Linked DNA regions of Homo sapiens: region 1 is linked to region 2. The links are contacts of gene promoters, found by promoter capture Hi-C in blood cells and fetal thymus (Javierre and others, 2016). All regions are on one chromosome and are shown on one strand. The core of a region is centred on a gene start or on the middle of the fragment in contact, and the rest is flanking DNA. Distances in the headings are between cores, read along the strand shown.

Region 1 (4,601 bases), core at 1,336-3,835, 150 kb before region 2:
TTTTCTATTATTGTTAAAGAATGAACAACAGGAAATATGGGAGAATAATGACCCATTCATTTGCTGGGTTTCAATGTAGCACTTCACTGGTTTAAATTGTTGAGTGATTCACATGTAAATATCTATTTCACATTTCTACAACTAGTCTGCATTTTTCATAGCTCATGTTTTATTACCAGGGATCCAGGGGCAGAAACAATACCTTCATGTGCTCAGAGCCCTACTCAAGGCTCACTTTCTTAAAAACATACAACTAGCTTTCACAATGGACTTAGGTCTTATGCTGATGATATACATTTGAAGAATGCATAGATAGAAGCATTTCACCAAATATATGTGATTAAAAAATAAACTTTAGTTAAAAGTTCTTCTTCAACCTAATGCCAGCCTCTCTTCATCCTTTAAAGATGATGCCAATGTTTGGAAACTATGACCATGTATATCTAGTGGTCATAGTTTTTCTTGTTTTAATTCAGTCTCTATGGCTTCTAGTTAGTTTCACTTTAAAGAAAGCCAAATCCTATTCCACTTGCTTAACATCGTATTACGGGCTGAACTGTGGCTCCTCAAATGTCCTAACCCCCTAGTACCTAAGTATTTGGAGATGAGGTATTTAAAGAGGTAAATTAATTAAAATGAGTTCATTAGAGTGCACCCTAATTCACTATGACTGGTGTCCTTATAAGAGGAAAAACTTTGGATATAGGCATGTAACAGAGGGAAGATGATGTGAAGACACAGGGAGAAGAAAACCATCTACAAACCAAGGACAGGGGCCTGGAACAGATCCTTCCCTCTAGGCCCTCAGAAACCTTGATCTTGGAATTCCAGCCTCCAGAACTGTGAGAAAATAAATTTCTGTTGTTTAAGCTGCTTATTCTGTAGTGTTTGTTATAGCAGCCCTAGCAAATTAATATTCATATGGTAGATGTGAATAGGTGCTGAAGCCTAACAGAAGTGAATACCGTTGGAAGTCAGTTTGCTGATGCCTGTGATACTTACCACAAATTTGCTGGACTTGCATGCAATGACACATAATTGTCACTTCATATAAGTAGCAAATATGAATGAGTATGGAGAAACCTCCCAACTGAGTGTTCTAATCTACTGACTTTTGACTTTGGAGAAAGAGTTGAATTTTTTTATGAAGAGACTAACACATTTGATGGTATTTCAGTCTCCCCACTGATCATTGTCGGCAACAAACTAAAATAACGAAAGGTGGGAATACACTTTCAATCACCTGGATTAAGGCTCCACTGTCTTCACTGAGTTTGTCATCGTGCTTGAACTCCACGGTCACTGCCTTGTCACAATCGATGGCAGCCATTTCTACATCGGTGGTGTTGTTCATCAAGATTCCACCAAAGAAATCAGTGGCTCTGAAACCTAAAGATAAGGGAAAAAGGGAAATTTTGCTTGTCTTTATTCTACTGTTATTTTCTTTGTTGGCCTGTTATTAATTTGAAAAAGAAACAATTATTCAAGAGAGACCCGAAGAATTGTATAAATGATAATTACCTGTGCTGGTACGAACCCTCATAATAGCATCAAAGCCTATTTTCTTTTCAATATCATTTCTGAGGTCGTTCAAAAATTGTTGTCTATCCAAGTGCATCTAAAAAATAAAAGTCTAATCAATGTCCACCAGATGGCAGTAAAATACTTAAAATAACGTTCTCATTTTAATCCTGAGTTATAATAATTATTTTTAAAATCCCGATTTAGCATATTTTTTTATTATATATTATGCTTCTTTGGTTAAAGAAAATATAGCATTTTTGGACAGTGTTTCTTAACTTTTGAAACTAAAATCTCATCTATTATTTTCTTTCATTTTAACACTTGGATGAGAAAATCGGTTATTAATTGCAAATGGGAAAATTAAGAGAGCATAAGTGATCCACTCAGTGGCTTAGGGTTAGAGACAAGGTTAAGACCCAATGTATAATACCCGTTTAATGAGGCTAGGGAAAGACCTTGCAATTGGGGCTTTTTAAGTCTGACCACATTCAGAGCTTTGTGAAGCTATGTCAGGGAAAGTAGAAACCCCTTCTCCTAGCCCTGTTAACTACTCTACGATCACCGTATTTCTGAAAACTGTCCACATTCCACAACTAAGCAACATTTATATAATATGCACATGTGCACAATACTGAGCTCAGAGGTCACCCAAGAGAGGAAACAAACTAGCTGAGCTTCTAAAGCTTCTCATCTGTCAGTGAAACTCTTTAGGAAATTCTCACTACTACTTGACACATAGGAGAGACACTGACGCACGCATCTCATCCCTTCCCCCCAGTCCCAAACACGAAGGGAATGAAGGAGGAAAGGAAAGAGGGAGATCATAGACACAATCTTTACAATAATCCCTTTAGTTGCTTACATACAACTGGGTGGTGCCTGCATAGTTCTTGACCATCATTTTTATCTTACAATGTTATTGAATGGAAAAGACTATTAAAATTTGTATTGTTGAAGATAAGAAAGAAATGCTACGGCAGGATTCAGTTTTGCAACAACTGGAGTAAACAAACAACTGAATGGCAGCATAGGCAACATTAACACTCTTTTATTATAAAATATTTTACTGCCTGTTTACATCTTACTGGCTTTTCCTCTGCTGCATTATAACATTTCTTTTTTAGTAACATTGAAAGAATCAGTAATAATTATGGATACACTGAGGTACAAGTAAATATCCTTTTATATCAGAAATGACATGGGGTTGGCAAGTAACTCAAAAACTTAAATAGAAAAAAAAAAGTAATAAGCCTGGATGATTACACCACAGAGCACCCCCTGCCTACACATCACTTGGTAGGCTGCTCTTTGAAGCCAAGTCACTACCATGTAGATGATCACACCAGTACATAGCAAAGGACCTAGCAAGAACCCCAGCACAATTCACATATGCCAGGAATGGAAGATGATAAAGTCCTTTTTGGAAAAGTGGGGGGGGGAAAGCTTCTGATGAAATTTATCCCCCTAACTGGAAAAGGAGCTAAAATTGATTAGCATGGTAGGCTTCATGTACCTCAATACCCAGAATGTGGGTAGAATCAGTAAGGGTCAGAATTCTGTATGATTATTAAAAGTTTATTTTCTAGAGTGTATCTGAAAAAACATACTTTTATCCAGAAGTCTTAGAAAGAGTTGTTAAAGCTTTTTCAATTTTATTTCATTTACAATCTTTGGTCTTATCAAGTCCCTTAGTTTATAAAGAAATATGTAACTAGTCTCTATTCATAATTTTATTGATGATTAATAAAAACAGATGATGACTAACATTTGTCATTTATGTTGGAGAATACACCTTCCCAGTCCATGCCTCCACGCCTGCCCAGGCACACACATTAGAGGTACACCCCTGACCCCTTCTCCTTAGGTGATGGGGAGTGACTCATCTGATTAATAAGTTTGGGAAAAGGAACTGGGTGGGCACAGCCCAGCCTCTTCTGGGTCCTCTCCATAGGAAGGCAGCTTGCCTGCAGGAGGCACATATTTTCTGTCCCTCAATACAGTGTTTTTTTCAAGGCACAGGGGTCCACAGGAGAAACTCAGATCGTGCCCACTCTGTGCCGGGGCGCATAAGTTTGTGAAATTCAGGGGTGAATCAGCAAGCCCACTTGCCTGCAGACTCAGGCCCATTATAGTGCTGACATTTTGATTGTCTCTTGAATATCTCTCTCAATCAGGCTTGGAAAAGAGAAGTGTAATGAATTGATCCCTAAAATCCCAATAATTTAAAACAAATATGCAGTCACTTTTAAAAACATTATCTTAAGTATATTTTACATAAAATATATTTTTCTCCATTATGAAAGCTCACATTGATATTTGACTCTGAGGATGAATGAGCTCATTCTATCACCAAACACTTAGGAAGTATGGAATTGCCGAACCATAAATATATATGGTTCCTATATATATATATACACACACACACACACACACACAGTTGTCTCTCGTTATCTGTGAGGGATTTGATCCAGAACCTCCCACAGATACCAAACTCCACCAGATGCTCAAGTCCCTGACATAAAATGGCATATTTGCATATAACCTACACACATTTTACGTGTCCCTTAAATCACCTGTAGGTTACTTATTTTTAAATTTTTTGTAGAGACAGGGTCTTGCTATGTAGCCCAGGCTGATTTTGAACTCCCGCCCTCACGTGATCTTCCCACCTCAACCTCTCAAAGCACTGGGATTACAGGCATTGGGCCACTGTGCCCTGCCTATGTTACTTGTAATACCCAATACAATGTGAACGTTATGTAAATAATTGTTATCCTATAGGGGATAATGACAAGAAAAAAGTCTGTACATATTCAGTATAATGCAATATTTGGTTCTGAGTATTTTTGATCCGAGGTTGGTTGAAGCCAAGATGCAGAACTCTCCTTATAAAAAGGACCAACGGTATACTTTGTTTTCCATCTGCTCTTGAATTTATATGTGTCATCTACCCACCAGGGAACACAGCTTTTTAAACCTATAATCTAAACAACAAAATTAAAATGGGAGTAGAAGACCAAGGTGAACAAATTGCTGGCATTTACCTGGAAATTGTTGTATTTGTAAAGGGTTCCTCC
Region 2 (6,697 bases), core at 375-2,874:
GTCCAGGGCTGATTCCTGCCTTGCGCCCTAAGCTGCAGGGAGAGGCTCAAGCCACTGGAGATCCTGAATGGGAATAAGTGGGTTGGAGGAGGAATGAATGTATGGATGCAAATTATTTTCAAAAAAAATTCATAAAATATATGTTAATCACACAAATGCACAGCAATAGATGATGCTGTATGAAATTTCTCAGTGAGCCTGCTATATTTGTGGTGGTTTTGAACTGCATTGTGACAGGAGGTACTCCTTATAATTTTCCTTTTGCAAACATTTATTCCTTGATTGAATCCACCACCACTACAGCTGCCCTCACTCACTGATTCACCAAAAATTGGGTCCATGATTATCTTGTTTTTATTAATCTTTCTTAAATGCATGTGTAGCTGACATTTATTTCCATGTTTAATATTAGAAGTGTTTTAATCTTATTTAAAAGTTTGGTGATGTCTTTGTGACCAGAAATAGACTGTAGTCACTTAACCTTGTTTTTATCAATTAGTCGATGGTAAAATTGGTTTTAAAGTCACAGTTTCCATGAACCTATCTGTGACGTTTTAAGTGAGGACTTACTGTATATAGTGCTTCTTAGTGCTGAAACAGGCAGCGTGTCTGGAAATTTTGTTTGGTACCACAAGTAACACAAACAAACTTTCCCAGGCTCTTCCTTATTTAGTATGTTTTTATGTGGATGAATGTTATGGAAAACAAAAGTATTATAGGAAAATTAAAATGTCCTTTTTGTACATTTTTGGCAGATTGTATTCAGATTTAAAACATTTAAATATTTGGAATATACAAAATCTGCTTTTATATTGGACCACCCAGATTCATGACATGGGATGACAAACTATAAAAATAAGAAACCTGTAGGTGACATTGTACATTTTATGCAGTTGACTAACTGTTGGGTTTGGGTTTAAGAAGATCAGCAGGTAGAAAGAAAACAAAACACGTTAAAATTTAACATACCCAAAACTATGCAATAGATGTAATTATAAGAATGTAGTTTCCAGGAGAAAAATTCATATTCATTTTCTCTCTTTCTCTCTCCCTTTCTGTCTCTTCTCTTCCCCTTTCTCTAAATATATGGTTCAGAAAGGTACTTTTCAGAGCTGGAGGTTTATTAACAAAAAGTTTGTGCTTTCTTTTGTTTCCTCTTATAGGAATAATTCAGCAGAATGCAGACAGAAAAGTAGTAATTTAACTCATTTTAACTCTTTTTTGTCTATTCCATTCATAAATGTGGCAAGTCTCAAAACATTTATTTGAGAGAATCTAATCCTCTAGTAGTTGAATTCCCAACGCTCCTATTTTAGGACGTCATTCATGGCGTGGAGATTAAACCTTCATGTGTCCTTTACTATTTACAGAATTATTAAATGTAAGTTTTTCAATCATACTTATACCATTAACTGCTTGGATTTAATCTGTTAGTGCAAGATAACTTTGGCTCTCCCTTCCGTCCTCCTTTCCCTTATCTCGCCCCACGTGAGGACATTCTCCTGTGTGTGAAGCTGCTTTCCTTTCCTCGAAGGTGGGCCGAGCAAAGGAGAGTGACGCAAGAGTGGGCTGTGTCCTGGATGCTGCGAGCGCCTCTGCCTCCTTGAGAATGAGCCCATTAGCCGCACAAATTCGCAGCAGGCGGCTGGGGCGGCGGCTGGGGCAGCGGCTGCAGCAGCGGCGGACGCTCTGCATTACCCAGTCTTGCGTCCTCGGCAGGCGCCCGAAGCTGAGTGCGCATCCTCTACCGCACCCAAGCTTCGTCTGTCTCGTCAAGCTCTTCATGCTGCCCAACTAAAAGGAAAACATGGGCACAGGGGATTTTATCTGCATTTCCATGACTGGAGGGGCGCCCTGGGGGTTCAGATTGCAAGGTGGCAAGGAGCAGAAGCAGCCCTTACAAGTTGCAAAGGTAGGACCTGAACGAAGTGTCACGGCTCTGTGCTAGGAAGGAAGGAATGAAAGCAACCTGCTGATGGTGTTTTCAGGTTCTGATGCAGAAGTCTAAGTATTATTTGATTTTGCTGCGGATATTAAGATTTTTCTAGGAAGTGAGTTATTTTCTAAGAAACTTTGGAGAGTAATGGGCCACATCCTATGTAATTAACTTGCAATCGATGAGGGGTGGGTGGGAAGAATGCCATATTTATCAGCTGAGGAAAAGGCCTAGTTAACCATGTTCTTCTGACAACAAGCAAGACACTGGGGAGCGTTTCTTCCAGGCAATTTTAGAATGTTCAGTTGAGTTATTGTTTGATGTCACTTCACTTGGCTCTGGCAGAGGAGAAACGCTCAGTTCAGCATAACGACTTTGCTTGGCTATTTTGGGGACTCATATAGAGTGTTGGTAGTGACATTTATTATGCAGCATTCATGAAAAGGCCAATGTTGGGCAATAATTTTAAAAGTATGATGAAGTGTCATAAAATCTATTTAAAAGAATACCCTTTTAAGGATTTGACAAATAAATGCAAAAATCCAATAAATGCTGTATTCCTTCTTATGTACTCTTTTGGTCAAGATCTCAAAAATAAACTTAGAAGATAATCTAAATATATTATGAGTAACTAAGAGGTAACTTTGTAACACATTAATAACTATTTAAAATGCTTTAAGTTTTTATTGCCATTAGATTGCCTGCATTACTGGTTAGCCCAAGGGGATCTGGTATTCTCTAATTGGCATTCAGCTAAAATAAAACTTAAAATGCACAAAACTAAGCAAACTTTTACCTAACCTTATCATCAAATTGCAAATTATAGTATTGTATTGAAGAACATGCAAGAGCATGGGATTAATTTCCTATTTTATGCTTATATTAAAAATGGGTACAGATCTTTATGAAATACATGGGCCATTGCCTTTGTAGTTATTGTTTGTTTCCCTCTGGCTTTTACTCTTTTTTTTTTGTAGTTATTGTTTCCCTCTGCCTTTTACGTTTTTTTTTTTTTAGTGTCCTTTGCGAAGAAAGAAGTTTCTTTGAAACTCCTTTTTGCTTCCAGGCATCATATGTAAATCCTTTCGTAATGTGATGGTGGAATCCTGCCACCTAGTGAAAATTGCAAACATCAAGAATGAACCATAAAACAGTAGATGAAAAGCAGAGTTTTTATTACTGGAAAGTTCCTCCGAGGTCTGCAGTTCAACCCATGAATTTTAGATGAGGAAAGAGCCCAGAGATGTTAAGTAACTTGCCTTAAGTTTTCAGCTTGGAACTGGCAGAGTGATTAAAGGCTCAGAAAGGTGGTTTTGTTGGGTTCCTTTAGGAGTCAATAGCAGGCAACCTCAGATAAAATATGAATGCCCAATTTAGCATATGTAGAATTCATGACACTGAAGCAGATTTGTCCTGAGTCTAGAATAGCAGTTGGCTGGCTCTAGGTATGAGATTTGGGTTCTAATTCCAGCTCTGATCTAACTTGCAGCCTGGCCTTAGGAAAATCTCTCACCCTTCCTGTCTCATCGGTTTCTCTCTCTCTCTCTCTCTCTCTCTCTCTCTCTCTCTGTGTGTGTGTGTGTGTGTGTGTAGGGAGAGAGAGACAAATATTTTAACTTAGGTGGTAAAGAAGTAAGAAAGAAATTGGACTGTGCAGTCTACGAAGCTCTGTCTTGCCCAAGTATTCTACGATCCTGATAGTGTACAGTTTTAGAATCGCTTGCCTACTAATTGAAATATGGGGACAGAGTGGCTGAGTGCTGTTGTTCTCTGGTGGCTCTTTGGCAGCCAGGCCTCAAGAATAGAGTGGGTAGTGGGTTTCTTCTGAGTTCTGCATGTGACGATTTCAATGTGGGACCTCTTTGCGGCGATTCACTGAAGAGCTGAAGCAGATTGCTAGGAAAGGGTGCTGTGGAGATTCTCTGCTAATGGCATCTCTATTTTCAGGATTCAGTAAGGTTGTTAGGCTATGTCAGAATCCAGTCCTACACTCCCCCTAAATCATCCTTCCTAAAATACCCAGCAATACATTTGTGGTTTTCAAAAGATCATTATTAAGGCATCTAGATGTTTGCTTTGCTTTTGTAGTTTGTGATACTATACTTAGAGCTATAGATTTTAAAATATCATTATAAAAGTATCTGGAAGTTTGCCTTAATTTTTGTGTGTTTGTGTGTGCAAGAGAGAGAGAGAGACAGACTGTAGTCTACAGTCTACCTTTTGTCCATACGTTAAAAAGACTAAAGAGCTATCTATAGAAGATGTAAGTTCTAAATTACTGTGGCAATGCACAATTTTTGTTGGTCTTTTTCTTTTTTTAGTTCAAATGATTATGTTTGATTTCTTATACTAGCATTATTTGTGGGAGAAATCCCTTGGAACAAAGCGCTTATCACTTTCTCTGTTATCAAGGCCATTGCCTCATTAGGATCACTGTATTTTATTTAAAATATTAAGTCAATTCAATTCTATTCATGGTATCTCAATGTGTTCAAGGCAAAGTGAATGTTGCTTGGGCATAAACTTTCTCTTCTTGTAAGGACTGGTGATAGCTTATTAGGGCTGGATGCAAGGAAAGAGACAGAAAGGCTAGAGAGATGGTTGCTGTCAAATCAAATGTTCACAGTTTTGAATAACATGCACAAAATTAATTTGGGAGTTGAAGGAAAACTTAAATTTTCAAAGAAAAGAAAATTTCGGCGAGTGCTTGAACCATGCTCCTTAAAATGGGAATGCTACAAAGCAGTTCTGTAGACAATAACACATTTTGGCTTTTTGTGAAATATCTACATATTTAGGTTTTTCATAATTCTATATAGAGTAAAAATCTAACAGGCAGAAATAGTGCAAAAAAACAGTCTAATGTTATTAAGAACAATAAAAAATTGAATAACTTTATAATTCCCGATAAATATCCTTATATTGACATATTTAGTCACTTCTGAGATATGTTCAAACATGTTTAGTATTTGGTTAGCTGGTTGAACTATACGCAAACCCCAAATTTTAAAGATAAATAACAGGAATATTCATTATCAAAACTTGTCATTGACGGTTAAGCTCAATGGCACGAAAATCTGTTTTGTTTTAAAAAATAAACCAAATTTTTAAAAGCCCAAGTAATCAGTAACATAAGCTTGTTTTTAAAATGTTTGTATATCTTTTAATTTATATTCTAAATATATGTGATGGGAGGCAAACATTTCTAACACTGAGTTATAGCATAACACTCTGCAAAGTATATTTTCAAGAGATTATAAACAGAAACAAATTTATCCAAACAGAAAACCCCACTGTGTGTGCAGATAGCTTTACAAAAAGAATGTGAGCACTTCTTCTTTATGAAACTCTCTCTTTTGGGACATGTACTTATCTGGCCCTGTCTCAGGACATACTTTTGGCAAATCACTTTGAAAAATCCTCATATAAAGGAGTGGGGAGAAATTTTTGTTTTACAAAAAATCTTACCTGCAATTGAAAAATTACTCACATTTTGAAAATAATTAAGAAAAAAATGTTCAGACTGTTTATCCTTTATATGTTTTAATATAGTTAGAAATTTATTTTTTCTTCAAATCTTATGCACCACTATAGTATGTGTTCTACTGAATTTAGTTCAAAGTTTCAAATAATTGTTCATTAAAATTGAGGTGACATTGTATAATCCTTCATTTCATAAGGCCAAAATGAATTTAATAATTCTTATCTATTATTGGATATGTGTTCTTTAAGATTTTGAATAAAAATGTATTATTTACACAAAGCACATTTCAGATAATATAATTCTTATCCCTTAGTGCCATCAGTAAGGTTTTTAAAATGTTTCAAATAGAAGAATTCCAGAAACATAGGTATTTCTAAAGGGGGAAAAAGATTTTAATGTGTTTGAATATGTATACTTGAGAATAAATGCTCCTTCCTATATATGAAAACTGGTAATATCTTTATTAAAATATGCTTAATCACTTAATCTTTAAATTGATTTTAAGCCCTTTCTAGGAATTTTAAACACAGACATGCTTATAGAAGTTAGTGTGCTCTAGATAAATCTATTAAGTAGGCGATATTAAAAAATCCTTATTTTGGAATTGTATATTTTAAGGGAGGTTTCTGAAAGATGACAATGAGATAAAATATTCATTATGCATGAACTTTGCCATTAGCTGGACGTAGCACATATGTAGCTTACATGTGTCAAGCCCTTGCTATGTGCCAGGAAAATTTGCAAGTGCTTTGCTAGTATTATCTCTTCAAATGTTCCTCAAAACCTAAACAGTAGGTATGAAAAAATCCTCATTTTAGAGATGAGGAAATTGTGGCACAGAAAGGCTACATTGCTTGCCAATGGTTAAGCTACAAAAAATGATGAGATTTGATTTTTCTTCTTCCTTATTGGTGGAAACAGGTGCCCGAGAGGATAAAAGTAGGTTAAAGTGGTCCCAAAAGGAAAGATTATTTAAAATAAATACCATAGTTTGTACCCAACCTTGATTTCATTATTGGTCTGGGGTTCACCCTGGACATCAGGATTTATAAACATTCCAAAGGGAATTCTGATGTGTGGTCAAGATTCACAACCACTGCTATAGAAAGTTAAGGCCAAAAAATTCTGATGTTCTACTGCACAGCAGGGTACTATAGTTGATAATAACGTATTGTATATTTCAAAATAGCTAAAAAAAAAAGGAGTTTAAATGTTCTCGTCACAAAGAAATGATAAATATTTGAGGTGATGGATATGCTAATTAGCCTGATTTGATC

Evidence for each region. Contacts are between HindIII fragments. The CHiCAGO score rates a contact against its expected background, and 5 or more counts as called.
Region 1: a contact is called between a fragment that was not itself captured here and the fragment with the promoter of SYNPO2 in region 2, in 1 of 17 cell types (total B cells). The highest score is 10.2, in total B cells.

Annotation. Positions count from the first base shown.
Region 1 is chr4:118,739,420-118,744,020 of GRCh38, forward strand. It overlaps SEC24D (SEC24 homolog D, COPII component), which reads right to left. Exons shown (of 23, transcript NM_014822.4): 15 at 4,569-4,601; 16 at 1,522-1,618; 17 at 1,244-1,389. Among named protein-coding and RNA genes, the nearest start is that of METTL14, 56 kb to the left of the region's middle. The HindIII fragment of the contact is 760 bases long and covers 2,206-2,965 here.
Region 2 is chr4:118,887,230-118,893,926 of GRCh38, forward strand. SYNPO2 (synaptopodin 2) reads left to right here and starts at 1,625. Exons shown (of 5, transcript NM_133477.3): 1 at 1,625-1,912. The coding sequence starts at 1,808. The HindIII fragment of the contact is 15,302 bases long and covers 1-1,756 here.